Linked DNA regions of Homo sapiens: region 2 is linked to region 1. The links are contacts of gene promoters, found by promoter capture Hi-C in blood cells and fetal thymus (Javierre and others, 2016). All regions are on one chromosome and are shown on one strand. The core of a region is centred on a gene start or on the middle of the fragment in contact, and the rest is flanking DNA. Distances in the headings are between cores, read along the strand shown. Region 1 holds the start of AGRP (agouti related neuropeptide). Region 2 holds the start of CARMIL2 (capping protein regulator and myosin 1 linker 2).

Region 1 (6,633 bases), core at 1,675-4,174:
TCAGGGTAAAGAGGTTTGTATGGCCACACCTCGCACCGACCAACTACCCCCGAAACACCCCCTCCTCCCAAACTGCAGGGTGAGCACAGCGAGAGAAAAGGTGGCCCAAGCAGAGGCGAACAACTGCGGTTCTTAAAGCCTTGTTTGAGTTTGGGCCCGCGCCGAGCCACAGCTAGAGGTAGATCCCGCTCCTGCGCGTCCGCTATCAGCCCCAGGATTCCCAGAGAGGCCTCTCAGGCCCTTCAAGACCCCCCCTTCCGGCTTCCCGGCCTACACCTCTGAACCCTCAGGCCCCGGACAGCCTCTATCCCCGCCTTTCGCGGCCCCGGCTCACCCTCTAGCGTCTCGCACTGCACCAGGTTGAGGTAGTCGGCCTGGCTGAGCACCCCGGCCTTCAGGCCGCGCACCAGTCCCTCCAAGTAGCCATTGTCCACGTTAAAGTAAAGCTCCGGGAAGAACGACATGGCTGCTGCGGGAGCGGCGGGACCGGAGAACCAGGACCGGCCGGCACGAATCGCGACTCCCCAGGTCAGCTGACGCTGCGTCCTCAGCGGGCTGTCAAGTGCGTCAGGTGACGCGCAAGCGCCTCACGTGACCATAAGGGGGCGTGGCTCTGAGCGGTGCCCGGCTTCCGGGTGGCTGCGCGGAAGCGCGGTGCAGGCGTGGGCTGGCCCTGCGGCGCCTGCGCGCTAAAAAGAGGAAGTTTGAGGCCGGCCGCTTGGTGGCGCCTGTGGCCGCAGGGATTTGACTGGGCCTTCTCTAGCTTTCCCCGGTTTGCTGCACTTGACGCTGCAGGGCGGGCGGGGTAAAGAAGGGAGCGAGCCCTTCTCAAGCTTGGAAAGTTTCCAGACTGCTGGGCCAGCCTCCTCCCCAGAGGGAAACTGAGGTCCGATTGAGGTAGGAGAATAGGGTCTGGAGGCGGGGAACTTGAGGCCAATACGTGCTGAATTCTGAAGCTGAATCAAGGGAAAACACCAAGGTCTGGGGGCAGGGAACCGGAGGCCAACTAAGGCGAGCTTACTAAAGCTAAACCAAAAAGAAAAACCCCATCTCCCCATGTCCAAGTAACAAAGGATCAAAGGCCACTGTCCCCACAACCCTCCCCCTTCCACCACGTCTCAGTTGAAAGGGAGAGTGCCTTGGATTGGCTGCGGGCCAAGCACGGGCCATCCCTTCATCTGCATAGGGCGCCAATTCACCTTAGCCCCATTTATGCCTTGTGTTCCATTATTGGAACGCTAAGCATATGGGAGTTATTTATATCCTACTGCTCAAGGTCATGGCCAAGGTCTGATTGCAAAAATTCAAAAAGATTGCAACCTCAGGCATAAATGGATTAATTAGCCATGGACCAAACCCTTCATCCAGATAAGGGGTAACGGACAGGGACCGCAAAAGGAGTACTTAAAACCCGGAAAACTTTGTAACTGAGCCCCTTCAGCCTCTTGCTCAGGCCCACTCCCACCCTGCGTAGTGCTTTCTCGCTTTAACAAATCCCAGCTGTCTGCTTCCTTCCTGTGTGTCATTCGTTTGTTACTTTCTGGGTTTTGTTCAATTCTTTGTTCGAAACGCTAAGGACCTGAACAACGCACACTCCTGGCCTTCCCTCTGGTAACAGGATGAGGGGCAGGCTTTGCGTGGAAGTAGCAGCAAGCCCTGGAGCCTAAGGCTTATTTGTTAGCCAGGAGTGATAGCCCCTGTGCCACGCTGCGTCCTGCGTTCCCCGCACTTGCTGTACAAGATTTTCGAAAGCTGGAGTGCGGCTCTTCTCTATTTTTCCCAGGGGCACCAGGACCCCTAAAAGCGCCCGTGTATGTGCCTCCTATGATAGGGTAGCCCAGGCCCTGGGATAAGAGTATGTGTGGTTTCTTGGCTTGGTGACACTCCCACCCCCTCCATGAACCCTCCCTCCTTTGACGGCCACGTTTGAAATAACCACAGCCTTGGGGTTGGTCCCATCCTTTATTCGAGTTTCCTTGCCCCTACCCTAGCCCCGACCCTGACGTTGGCCAGCTAGGTGCGGCTGCAGGGATTCATGGCAGTACCCAGCTTGCGGCAGTAGCAGAAGGCATTGAAGAAGCGGCAGTAGCACGTGGCACATGGGTCACAGCAAGGCACCTGCTGTCCCAGGCAGGACTCATGCAGCCTTACGCAGCGACGTGAGGAGCGGGGCTCGCGGTCCTGCAGGTCTAGTACCTGCAGGGGTGGGGAACCAGCACAGGCCTCTAAAGACAGATCCAGGGATCTTACCTGTCCCAACCTGTGCAGGATGGCAGTGGAGCATGGGAAGGGGTGGTCGGTAGTGTCGTCGCTGGTGAGGGAGTTTGGAGCTGGGGAGAGGAGCTAATACCCAATGCCCCCTCCCAAGGGCCACCACCTTACCCTTTTCCCTGAGCAGTTACCTCTGCCAAGGCCTGAGCCTCCTGCAACAGATCCTCTTCTGCCTGTTCTGCAGTTGTCTTCTTCAGTGGGGCCCGCAGGCCCAGGCCTGGGGCAGAGGATGTGAGGGCAGGAACCCCCATGCACAAAGCACCCACCTCCCAGGGGAGGGTTTGGGAAGGGAGAAAGAGGGTTTATGCCAGGGGAGACTATTTGTGGCCAGAGGGTATTCAGGCCCCGCCCAGTCCCACCCTTGCTCACACTGACCTGGGAGCTCTGGGAGCAGGGCCTGGTCAGGCCTTCTGATGCCCTCCATGGGGGCCAAGCCCATCTGGGCTCCTCGCGTGGCAGGCAGTGCCAGCAGCAGGGCACAGCTCAGCACCGCTGCGGTCAGCATGGCCTGGCTCAGCAGGAAGATGTACCACTTAGTCCCTCCTTATCCTTGGAGTCCCCTCTAGGTGCCCAGATAGAGACCCCACAGAGAGGAGGAGTCCCTGCCCAACCTGAGGACTCACCTCTGCCTCCGGGATTCTTGCCTAGAGAGTTCCCGGCCACCCCGTGCCCTTGGCTTATATGGCAGGGCCTAATGAAGGGCCACACGTGACTGATCCCTGCAGCCAGGCCGTGAAGGACCCTTCCTGGAGGGTGGGGGCACAGTTCAGGCCCTCACTCCCTGAACCTGAGCCTTTTGTTCTACAAGAGGAGTGCCTATCTCCAATTTGGGGTGAGGTTTCCAGGAGCCGATTAAAATTTGGGAGCAAGAGAGGGTGCCCAGGGTCCACAAATTTCCACAGGACAGGGACCTAGGAGCTGAGCAGGGCTAGAACCATTAGCAATAACAAGGCAGGCGGCCCTGAAAGCTTAATTTAATTTGTGGCCCCAGAGATGCTTACTCAACCCCTATGTGGCATGTTGTTTCCTGTGCTTCCAAGAATTCGGGTCAAGGACATTGGAGCGGGTGATGGGCCAATGGCCACTGTTGGGCAGGGGTAGGTGCAGAACCAGAACCTGGGTTTCTTTGGAGGGAAAGGGGAAGGAAAAGCCCACCTAACCAATCCTAGGCCCTCCTGACTACATTTCTGGTCCTCCCCTCCCTTTCTCCCTCCAGGTTTCTCCAAGACCGCCCACTCCTGCTCCTGTCCCCAAACCCCTTTCTGCCTAGGGTTCCTGGAAGCCAAGGAAACAGAACGAACTGTTCCCTGGGTGGGCGAGCCACTGCAGAGTACAAAGCTTTCAGGCCGCCTGCCTCATTAGCACTAATGGCTGCTCCCTTCCGCCCTGTGTCGTCAGGACTGTCTATGCCTGGTCTCATCAGCACAAGGCTGGGGTAAGGACTGCCCTTTTGTGGAGATGGCAGGACATACAGGACCCTGCTGCCCCTGCCTTCCCTCACCCCACTGCAGAGCTGTTTATCACACACGTGTCCATCTGGGAAAGGAATGCAGGCTGAATCAGCTTTGAGAGGATCGCAAGGCCCCAGTGCACAAACTGGGTTGGCACAAGGCAGTGGAAAAAAGATGAAGGGGGCCAGGTATGGTGGCTCACACCTGTAATTCCAGCATTTTGAGAGGCCAAGGTGGGAGGATCACAAGGCCAGGGGTTTAAGACCAGCCTGGGTATCATGGTGAGACCCCGTTGCTACAAAAAATAAAAAAATAGCTGGGTGTAGTGGTGCATGCCTGTAGTAGAGGCTGAGGTGGGAGGATGGCTTGAGCACAGGGATTCAAGAGTGCAGTGAGCTATGACTGCATCACCACACTCCAGGCTGAGCGACAGAGCAAGATCCTGTCTCAAAAAGAAAAGAAGATAAAGGGTGGCCAGGCACGGTGGCTCACGCCTGTAATCCCAGCATTTTGGGAGGCCAAGGTGGGCGGATCACTGGAGGTCAGGAGTTCAAACCAGCTTGGCCAATATGGTGAAACCCTATCTCTACTAAAAATACAAAAGTTATTCAGGCATGGTGGCACATGCCTGTAATCCCACCTACCCGGGAGGCTGAGGCAGGAGAATCACTTGTAACACGGGAGGCAGAGACTGCAGTGAGCAGAGATCGCACCACTGCACTCCAACCTGGGTGACAGAGTGAGACTCCATCTTAAAAAAAAAATGCTATTTAAAATGAAATGAAGCAATCCATACTCCCAACATTTATATATACTGGGACATCCAAGAAATTAAAATCACACCTCATTATGTCTTTTTCTTTGAGTCAGGGTCTCACTCTGTCACCCAGGCTGGGCCTGGTCAGCACCCATGCTATGGAGAGCTCTTCATGGTCTGGTGTGGACAGAGTGGGAGTGGAAGATCTCCTCCCACACAGGTGCTCAGTGTCTTACCTCACCTACGGGCAGCAGCTGTCTTCACCTGAGTGTGTGCACACAGGTGTATCAGCCCCATGGGCAGTGATGGACGAGGGCTGAGGCACTCACAGGGCAGCCCATGCCCCGGTCAGGTCCAGTGGGGGAGATATCAAGAAAACCCAGCGCCAAAATGCAATGAGCTGTGATCGCGCTACTGCACTCCAGCCTGGGCGACAAAGCAAGTTGCCGTCTCAAAAAACAAAAACAAAACTAAACAAAAAAAAAAAAACGGCCAGGTGTAGTGATTCACACCTTCTTGAGCCCAGGAGTGGCAACATAGTGAGACTCTGTCTCTACCAAAAAAAAAAAATTTAATTAGCTGAATGTGGTGATGCACACCTGTAGTCCCAGCTACTCAGGAGACAGGGAGGAGGATAGCTTCGGCCCAGGAGATTGAGGCTGCAGTGAGCCATGGTGGTGGTGGCTCACGCCTATAATCCCAGCACTTTGGGAGGCTGAGGCAGGCAGATCACTTGAGCCTAGGAATTCGAGGCCAGCCTGGGCAACATGGCGAAACCCAGTCCCCATTAAAAAAAAAAAAAAAAAAGGCCAGGTGCGGTGGCTCACGCCTGTAATCCCAGCACTTTGGGAGGCCGAGGTGGGCAGATCACAAGGTCAGGAGATGGAGACTATCCTGCCTAGCACAGCAAAACCCCATCTCTACTAAAAATACAAAAAAAAAAAAAATTTAGCCGGGCGTCATAGCGGGCACCTGTAATCACAGCTACTTGGGAGGCTGAGGCAGGAGAATGGTGTGAACCCAGGAGGCAGAGCTTGCGGTGAGCCGAGATCGCGCCACTGCACTCCAGCCTGGGTGACTGAGCGAGACTCTCTCAAAAAAAAAAAAAAAAGTTTCACAGCCGGATGCAGTGGCTCACGCCTGTAATCCCAGCATTTTGGGAGGCCAAGGTGGGCAGATCATGAGGTCAGGAGTTCAAGACCAGCCTGGCCAACATGGTGAAGCCCCATCTCTACTAAAAATACAAAAATTAGCTGGGCATGGTGGCACGCACCTATGATCCTAGATACTTGGGAGGCTGAGGCAGGAGATTTACTTGAACTGGGACCCAGGAGGCGGAGGTTGCAGTTAGCTGAGATCGTGCCACTGCACTCCAGCCTGGTAACACTCCAGCCTGGTAACAGAGTGAGACTCCATCTCAAAAAAAAAAAAGTTTCACTATGTGGGTAATTTTACGGTAAGGAACCAGCCTGATATTCCCAGGACAATGCTTGTTGGCAAAAGGACCTTCAGAAATATGTGGCATGTTCTGGGAGGAGGATTTGGGAAACCCTGGGGGAGGCAGAGCCTCCTAAGTGAGGGTGTGGGCCCGGAACACAGGGACTCTGTGCAGGGAGGAGAAAGGGGAGAGTGTGCATGCTCGTTCCAGAGACCACATGAGGACAGAGAGGGGTGCTCAAACCCTCTCCCTTCTCTTCTTTTTCCTCCTGCAGTGTACTCCCCTTCAAGGGCCCTGTTCCCACCTTGTCCAGGGGAGAGGGTGGGGGGTGCAGGGAAAAACTGCAAGCACCCGTGGCTCTGTCAATCAGGGTTGATTTTGAAACCCCTACCCAGCCCATTGCCCCTGCCCCAGAGAGCACAGCCATGTGTTTCCTGTGAATCATCTGTAGGATTTCCTAAGGCAGAGGTTGCCTGGAGAGGCACGGTCTCCTCAGTCATTCAGGGAGAGGAGAAGATGGATGGGGGTTCTCTCGGGCTGGTGTATTGAGCCCTGAGCTAGAGAGGATCTGTGATTGTTAATTTTGTGTGTCAACTTGACTGGGCCAGGAATGCCCAGATATCTGGTTAAATATTATTTCTAGGTGTGCCTGTGAGGGTGTTTCCAGAATCATCCAATCCTTTGAGGGTTGGAATAAAACAAAAAGATAGAGAAAG
Region 2 (6,633 bases), core at 3,892-6,391, 160 kb after region 1:
GTCTTAGATAATAGAGCTGCCTGGTAGCACTTCAGGAAGGTGGTTGGAAAGGGAGTTGTGTCGTGTTTGGAATCTTAGGCGTGAGTGGAAAATTATCTTGCTGCTGCTGCCATTCCTAGGCAGATTGCTTTGGCAAACCCACTTGAGGTGAAAGCTTAAACCACTTGAGTTTTTTAACCTAAATTCCAACTTAGGAGTTGTCAATTAGAAGTAACAGAGCAAAATGTGTGAAGCTTTTAGCTGGCTAGTGCTGTCCACACAGATGGGTCTCCCAGGAAAACGACCCAGGGCCTCCTGGGGCCTCGGGACTCAGCCAGGCAGTTAACTCGTTGGTCTGAAAGTTAGTGGTCTCAGGCTGTTGGAGCTTGAGTTCTCTATCCCATCCACGGGTTTACCCGCCAGGGTACCCCCTACCAGCCAGCCAAAACTTTTTTTCTTTTTTTCTTTTTTTTTTTTGAGACGGAGTCTCGCTCTGTCACCCAAGCTGGAGTGCAGTGGCACAATCTTGGATCACTTCAACCTCCACCTCGGGTTCAAGGGATTCTCCTGCCTCAGCCTCCTGAGAAGCTGGGATTACAGGCACCCACCACCACACCTTGCTAATTTTTGTATTTTTAGTAGAGATGGGGTTTCACCATGTTGACCAGGCTGGTCTGGAACTCCTGACCTCAGGTGATCTGCCCGCCTCGGCCTCCCAAAGTTCTAGGATTACAGGCATGAGCCACCACACCCGGCCCCAACTTTTTTTTAATTCCAAGTTTTTTTTGAGACAGGGTCTCACTCTGTCACCTAGGCTGGGATGTGGTGGCACAATCAGCTCACTGTGACCTTGAACTAGGCTCAAGCAATCCTCCTACCTCAGCCTCCTGGATAGCTGGGACTATGGGCCATGCCATCACACCTGGCTCATTTTTGTTTTTTTTGTTTTTTTAGGGTTTTTTTTTTTTTTTTTTTTTTTAGAGATAGGATCTTGCTATGTTGCCCAGGCTAGTCTCAAACTCCTGGACTGAAGTGATCTTCCTGCCTCAGCCTCCAAAAGTGCTGGATTATAGGCATGAACCACCATTCCCAGCCACCTAAGCATATATAACCTCTTTGCAGAACAATGAGGCTCAGTTTTTCTGTATCTTCATTCAACACAGCCTGTCATTCCTGATTGTATACATTCTGTTTGAAAGGTTTTTGTTTGTTTGTTTGCTTGTTTGTTTGTTTTGAGATGGAGTCTCGGTCTGTTGCCAGGCTGGAGTGCAGTGGCGTGATCTCGGCTCACTGCAACCTCTGCCTCCCAGTTTCAAGCAATTCTCCTGCCTCAGCCTCCCCAGTAGCTGGGAATACAGGCACGCACCACCACACCTGGCTAATTGTATTTTAATAGAGACGGAGTTTCACCATGTTGGCCAGGATGGTCTCAATCTCCTGACCTCATGATCCGCCCGCCTCGGCCACCCAAAGTGCTGGGATTACAGGCGTGCACCACCATGCCCGGCCCTCTGTTAGAAAGTTTAAAAGTTTAAAAGTAGCCTCCCAGCTACTTGGGAGGCTGAGGCAGGAGAATTGCTTGAACCCGGGAGGCGGAGGTTGCAGTGAGCCAAGATTGCGCCACTGCACTCCAGCCTGGGTGACAGCGAGACTCCGTCTCAAAAAAAAAAAGTTTAAAAGTGGATTTGTTTTAGCTGGAGAGGGGGCAAGAGAATTGACATCCTGATGGAGTTAAGGCTGAAAAGGGATCCTCCTGCTGCATAGCCCAGGATGCATCCTGTCTGTCCCTTAATTATAAAACATTCAGCAGCAGAAGCCAGTTGTGTTACTGCTTCTGTTGACAGGGAAGTTCCTGAACCTGCATGCAGCTCCCTCAGTGTTAAGCCACAGAAGTAAAGAACCTTTGCCCCTTTCACCCCTAGGCTGGCATCACCCTATTGCTGCCCAGCTCAGCAAGTACCTGAACCCTTCTCTGACTTGTCAGGACCTGGTCTTTGAAAATCATCTGTGGTGAGCCTTATGGCAGCACCAAGGGGGCATAGCCCGGCCCACCTGGGAGGCAAGTCTCGCCCTCAGCCTGTGCTACCCAGAGCAGGCGAGGCTGATGCTCTCGGGAGCTTTGACATTTCCTGAATGCCCATGGAGTGGCATGCCATCCAGAACACAGACGGGCTTGAACAAGCTGACAGCTTCTCACTGAGTCACTGTCACTTGTAAGAACCGAGTCCCATGTGTTCACTTGGTCTCTGAGATCAGGTTTGCTGTGTTACTACCTCCCTGACCACCATCAGCCACGTGGCTAGCCCTGCAAGCCTGTCCAGATCTCTTAGTTGTCCCTGCCTGCCCCCATGTGCTCACACACACAGGGACTGGCCCCACTGGCATCGCTGCAGCCTCCAGAGGCCCTCCACCTGGGCATGGCTCCAGCCCTTTTGGCAGTCACTCTCATTTCTCTCTCCTCCTTGTCATTCTAAACAGAAAAATCCCAGTGAGGTGGATTTTCTGCCATTCTGTTTTGGAATCCCTGGGTTGTCATGGTAGACTTGGCAAATGTGAGTGTTATCTGAGTGCCAGGCACTGTTGCGGGCACTTCCCTTAATAAACATTGAATCCTTTGAGCAAGGCTTGAGGTTAGTTAATAGCTCCGGCTTACAAACAAAACTGGAAGACCAGAAAGGCTAAGCAATGTGTTCAGTGTCAAAATCTAGGCAGTGTGCCTGCAGAACCTGCTTTTTTTTTTTTTTGAGACGGAGTCTTGCTCTGTCGCCCAGGCTGGAGTACAGTGGTGAGATCTTGGTTCACTGCAACCTCTGCCTCCTGGGCTCAAGCAATGCTCATGCCTCAGCCTCCCCAGTAGCTGGGACTACAGGTGCCCACCACCACGCTTGGCTAACTTTTTGTATTTTAGTAGAGACAAGGTTTCACCATGTTGGCCAGGTTGGTCTCGAACTCCTGAGCTCAGGCGATCCACCTCGGCCTCCCAAAATGCTGGGATTATAGGCATGAGCCACTACACCTGGCCAGAACCTGCATTCTTGGTTCCTTGGCAGTACTGTGTGAGACCTACTGAATTGTCACCCTACAAGCAGTTTGAGGGTTCTGTGTGGTCTTAGAGCCTTAGATCTTAATCCAAATTATGTCTCTTCGTGGCCAGGCATGGTGTCTCACGCCTGTAATCCCAGCACTTTGGGAGGCCGAGGTGGGCAGATCACCTGAGGTCAGGAGTTGGAGACCAGCCTGACAAACATGGTGAAACCCCGTCTCTACTAAAAACATAAAAATTCCCTGGGTGTGGTGGCACATGCCTGTAATCCCAGCTACTTGGGAGGCTGAGGCAGAAGAATTGCTTGAACCCAGGAGGCAGAGGTTGCAGTGAACCAAGATCGCCCTACTGCACTCCAGCCTGGGCAACAAGAGCGAAGCTCTGTCTAAAATAATAATAATAATAATGATAATAATAATAATAATAATTAGCCCAGGCATGGTGGTGGGCACCTGTAATCCCAGCTACTCGGGAGACTGAGGCAGGAGAATTGCTGGAACCTGGGAGGCGGAGGCTGCAGTGAACCAAGATCGCCCTACTGCACTCCAGCCTGGGCAACAAGAGCGAAGCTCTGTCTAAAATAATAATAATAATAATGATAATAATAATAATAATAATTAGCCCAGGCATGGTGGTGGGCACCTGTAATCCCAGCTACTCGGGAGACTGAGGCAGGAGAATTGCTGGAACCTGGGAGGCGGAGGCTGCAGTGAGCCAAGATTGTGCCACTGCACTCCAGCCTGGACCACAGAGCAAGACTCTATCTCAAAACCAACAAACAAACCAAGTATGTCTCTTCAATCGGGGAGGCAGCAGGAACTCTCTGTGCTGCATCTTCTGCAGCTGACTCCTCCTTGTCACCCTTAGCTGTCATTTCACCTCCACCTTGCTGAGCTATGGGCAGGGTAGACTGCTGTTCCTTACCGCTTAAGTGGAGTTTAGATTGTAATAGAAGAAAAAAAATGCAGTCTCTTCCTGTGAACTTTCCAGAATCTAGGTCCTGGTCTTTGAGAGGGCAACAGGCTACCAGGCCCCACCCTATGACTGTCTGACCCCTCTCAGCCCTGGAGACACTGGCTTATTTCTCTCTCTCTGGCTGCCCCCTCCCAAACTCTCTCCAGCCTGGGGAGAAGGCAGACACAAGAAGACCCTCATGTACCTGGACGACTCACTCCGGCCCTCTATGAAGTGCTTGGGGTTCAGGGCTCACCTTAGCCCCAGGCTTCCCCCCGAAGGCTCCGGGTACACCCTCACCTTCGGCCCTGACCCCACCTCTGCGGCAAGGAAGGGCGTCTGGACCCATCAGGCTGTTTTTTTTTTTTTTTTTTAGACAGGACCTGGCTTTGTCACCCAGGCTGGAGTACAGTGGTGCGATCTCCGCTCACTGCAAACTCTGCCTCCCAAGCTCAAGTGATCCTCCCACCTCAGCCTCCCAAGTAGCTAGGATTACAGACACACGCCATCACGCCGTCTAATTTTGTAAATTATTTTGCAGAGACAGGGTCTCCCTATGTTGCCCAGCTTGGTCTCGAACTCTTTGGCTCAAGCGTTCCTCCTTCCTCGGCCTTCCAAAGTGCTGGGATTACAGGCGTGAGCCACCGCGCCTGGCCCCATCTGACATTTTTTCCCACCCATTCAAAATCTCTTGGATCCCTAACAGGGTCACGGACTCCAGGTTCGGAGCAACGGGCAGGACCTCCGGTGTTGGCAGAATTCGGGCGCTCCTTGCTGAACAGTCCCCCTTCTGCCAGGCGCCTCGTCCACCTCCGCAGCCTGGGCTTTGGAGGGGACCAGCCCCGGTGGGCCGCGGGGATCCCCAGGCAGGCAGCGTCCCCTGGTGTTCGCGGCAGGGACTGCGGGGCGGGGTGGAAGCCGGGGGCAAGGACCCGCTGGAGGCCCGCCACACCCGCGACCCTCCCGGCCACGCCACTGCCCACCCCGACGTCTACCCTGGCGGAGAAGCTCCTGGGCGACGGGGCGGGCGGGCAGGTGGGACTCGGCCCCCCTCCCACAACCCCGCTCCCGGGCAAGCTCTCGAGCCGCGAGGCCGGGGCGGGGAGGGGCCGGGCCGGGGGCGGCCTGGCAGGAAGCGGCGCGCACCTTCCGCCGCCGGAGGAGCAGGTGGCTGCCGTGCGGGTCTGGGCCCCAGGCTTCCTGTGTGCGCGCTCGTCCTCTGCTGTTTCCCGCCGGAGCTCGTTGGGCCTCCCCGGCCCGCCCGGCCCATGGCCCAGACCCCCGACGGCATCTCCTGTGAGCTCCGAGGTAAGCGCTGGCCCTTCCTGCCTTCTTGGCCGGGAGGAAGTAGTGCAGCCCCAAAATCAGAGGCCCACCCAGCGCCCCAGAGGGCCTGGTCAGAGGTCCTCCCTGCTCCCCAGGAGGGCAGGCGCCCCAGATCCTCTCCCCTCCTTCCTCGCTGGCCGCAGATAAGCCCCAGGGCCCCAGCCTGGCACAGACTGTGGGCACCAGTGGCTTCTGTGCAAGGACTGAAGTCACCCAGCAGGCTGCCCTTCCACAGGCGAGATCACCAGGTTCCTGTGGCCCAAAGAGGTGGAGCTGCTGCTGAAAACCTGGCTACCCGGGGAGGGTGCTGTGCAAAACCATGTCCTGGTATGGGGCAGGGGACAGAGCCGGGGAGGCGGCTGTGGCCCCACAGAAAGAGCCTCTTGCTCTGCCCAGGATATCAGACTGTCTTTCCCCAGGCACTGCTACGATGGAGAGCCTACCTGCTGCACACCACCTGCCTCCCGCTGAGGGTGAGTCCCAGGGCCTGGCCACACCCCCGCCCGCCAGCAGCTACCTTGGCAGGGGGCTGCATCTGCAGAGTGGTCCTTCTTGGCCTTGTGGGCCCTGACTTTGCACCAGCACTGGGCTCTGGGCAGCCGACAGGAGGGGAGTCCAGGCAGATCTGGCTCTGCCCCAGGCTGCCCAAAGGACTGGACTTCCATGAGGGCGGGGCTGGGGGCTTGGTCCCAGCTGATCTAGGCCCTTTCTAGGTGGACTGCACGTTCAGCTACCTGGAGGTCCAGGCCATGGCGCTGCAGGAGACACCCCCTCAGGTGAGACACCTAGTACCCTACCTGGGCCTGCAGCCTGGTCTTCATGCTACCACCATCACCTGCGCCCATGTGTGGAGCCGAGGCCTAGTAGTGCCCCTTCCCTAGGTCACCTTTGAGCTGGAGTCCCTGCGTGAGCTGGTCCTGGAGTTTCCTGGTGTGGCCGCCCTGGAACAGCTGGCCCAGCACGTGGCTGCAGCCATCAAGAAGGTCTTCCCTCGCTCGACCCTTGGGTGAGGCCTGGCAAATTCGAGGGGCTGGCAGGGGAGGAGGGAGTGCATGAGAAGGGCTGCTTCCCATCCCAGAGGCTGGAAGTCCTTTGCCCCCTTCTCCTTAACCCCCTACCAGGAAGCTATTCCGGAGGCCCACACCAGCCTCCATGCTGGCTCGGCTGGAGAGAAGCAGCCCCTCGGAGTCCACTGACCCCTGCAGCCCCTGTGGTAAGGGTGAAGGCAGAGCCACAGGCCTTCCAGCCTGCCCCACCTCTGCCTCCCCAGACCCGCAAGCTGGGGGGGCCCCAAACTGAACAGAGCCATTCAGGTCCCAGCCACCACCTAG

What was found. Contacts are between HindIII fragments. The CHiCAGO score rates a contact against its expected background, and 5 or more counts as called.
Region 2: a contact is called between the fragment with the promoter of CARMIL2 here and the fragment with the promoter of AGRP in region 1, in 8 of 17 cell types (total B cells, naive B cells, endothelial precursors and 5 more). The highest score is 9.5, in total B cells.

The regions. Positions count from the first base shown.
Region 1 is chr16:67,480,623-67,487,255 of GRCh38, forward strand. It overlaps AGRP (agouti related neuropeptide), which reads right to left and starts at 2,925. Exons shown (of 4, transcript NM_001138.2): 1 at 2,895-2,925; 2 at 2,647-2,779; 3 at 2,403-2,488; 4 at 1,949-2,196. The coding sequence starts at 2,776. The coding sequence ends at 2,014. It overlaps ATP6V0D1-DT (ATP6V0D1 divergent transcript), which reads left to right and starts at 772. Exons shown (of 4, transcript NR_184227.1): 1 at 772-897; 2 at 3,488-3,706. ATP6V0D1 (ATPase H+ transporting V0 subunit d1) reads right to left here and starts at 535. Exons shown (of 8, transcript NM_004691.5): 1 at 335-535. The coding sequence starts at 464. RefSeq lists enhancers at 86-325, 486-535 and a silencer at 646-815. The HindIII fragment of the contact is 2,406 bases long and covers 832-3,237 here.
Region 2 is chr16:67,640,003-67,646,635 of GRCh38, forward strand. It overlaps CARMIL2 (capping protein regulator and myosin 1 linker 2), which reads left to right and starts at 5,142. Exons shown (of 38, transcript NM_001013838.3): 1 at 5,142-5,284; 2 at 5,538-5,629; 3 at 5,722-5,775; 4 at 6,016-6,078; 5 at 6,184-6,308; 6 at 6,424-6,515. The coding sequence starts at 5,245. RefSeq lists a silencer at 4,836-5,225. The HindIII fragment of the contact is 10,344 bases long and covers 232-6,633 here.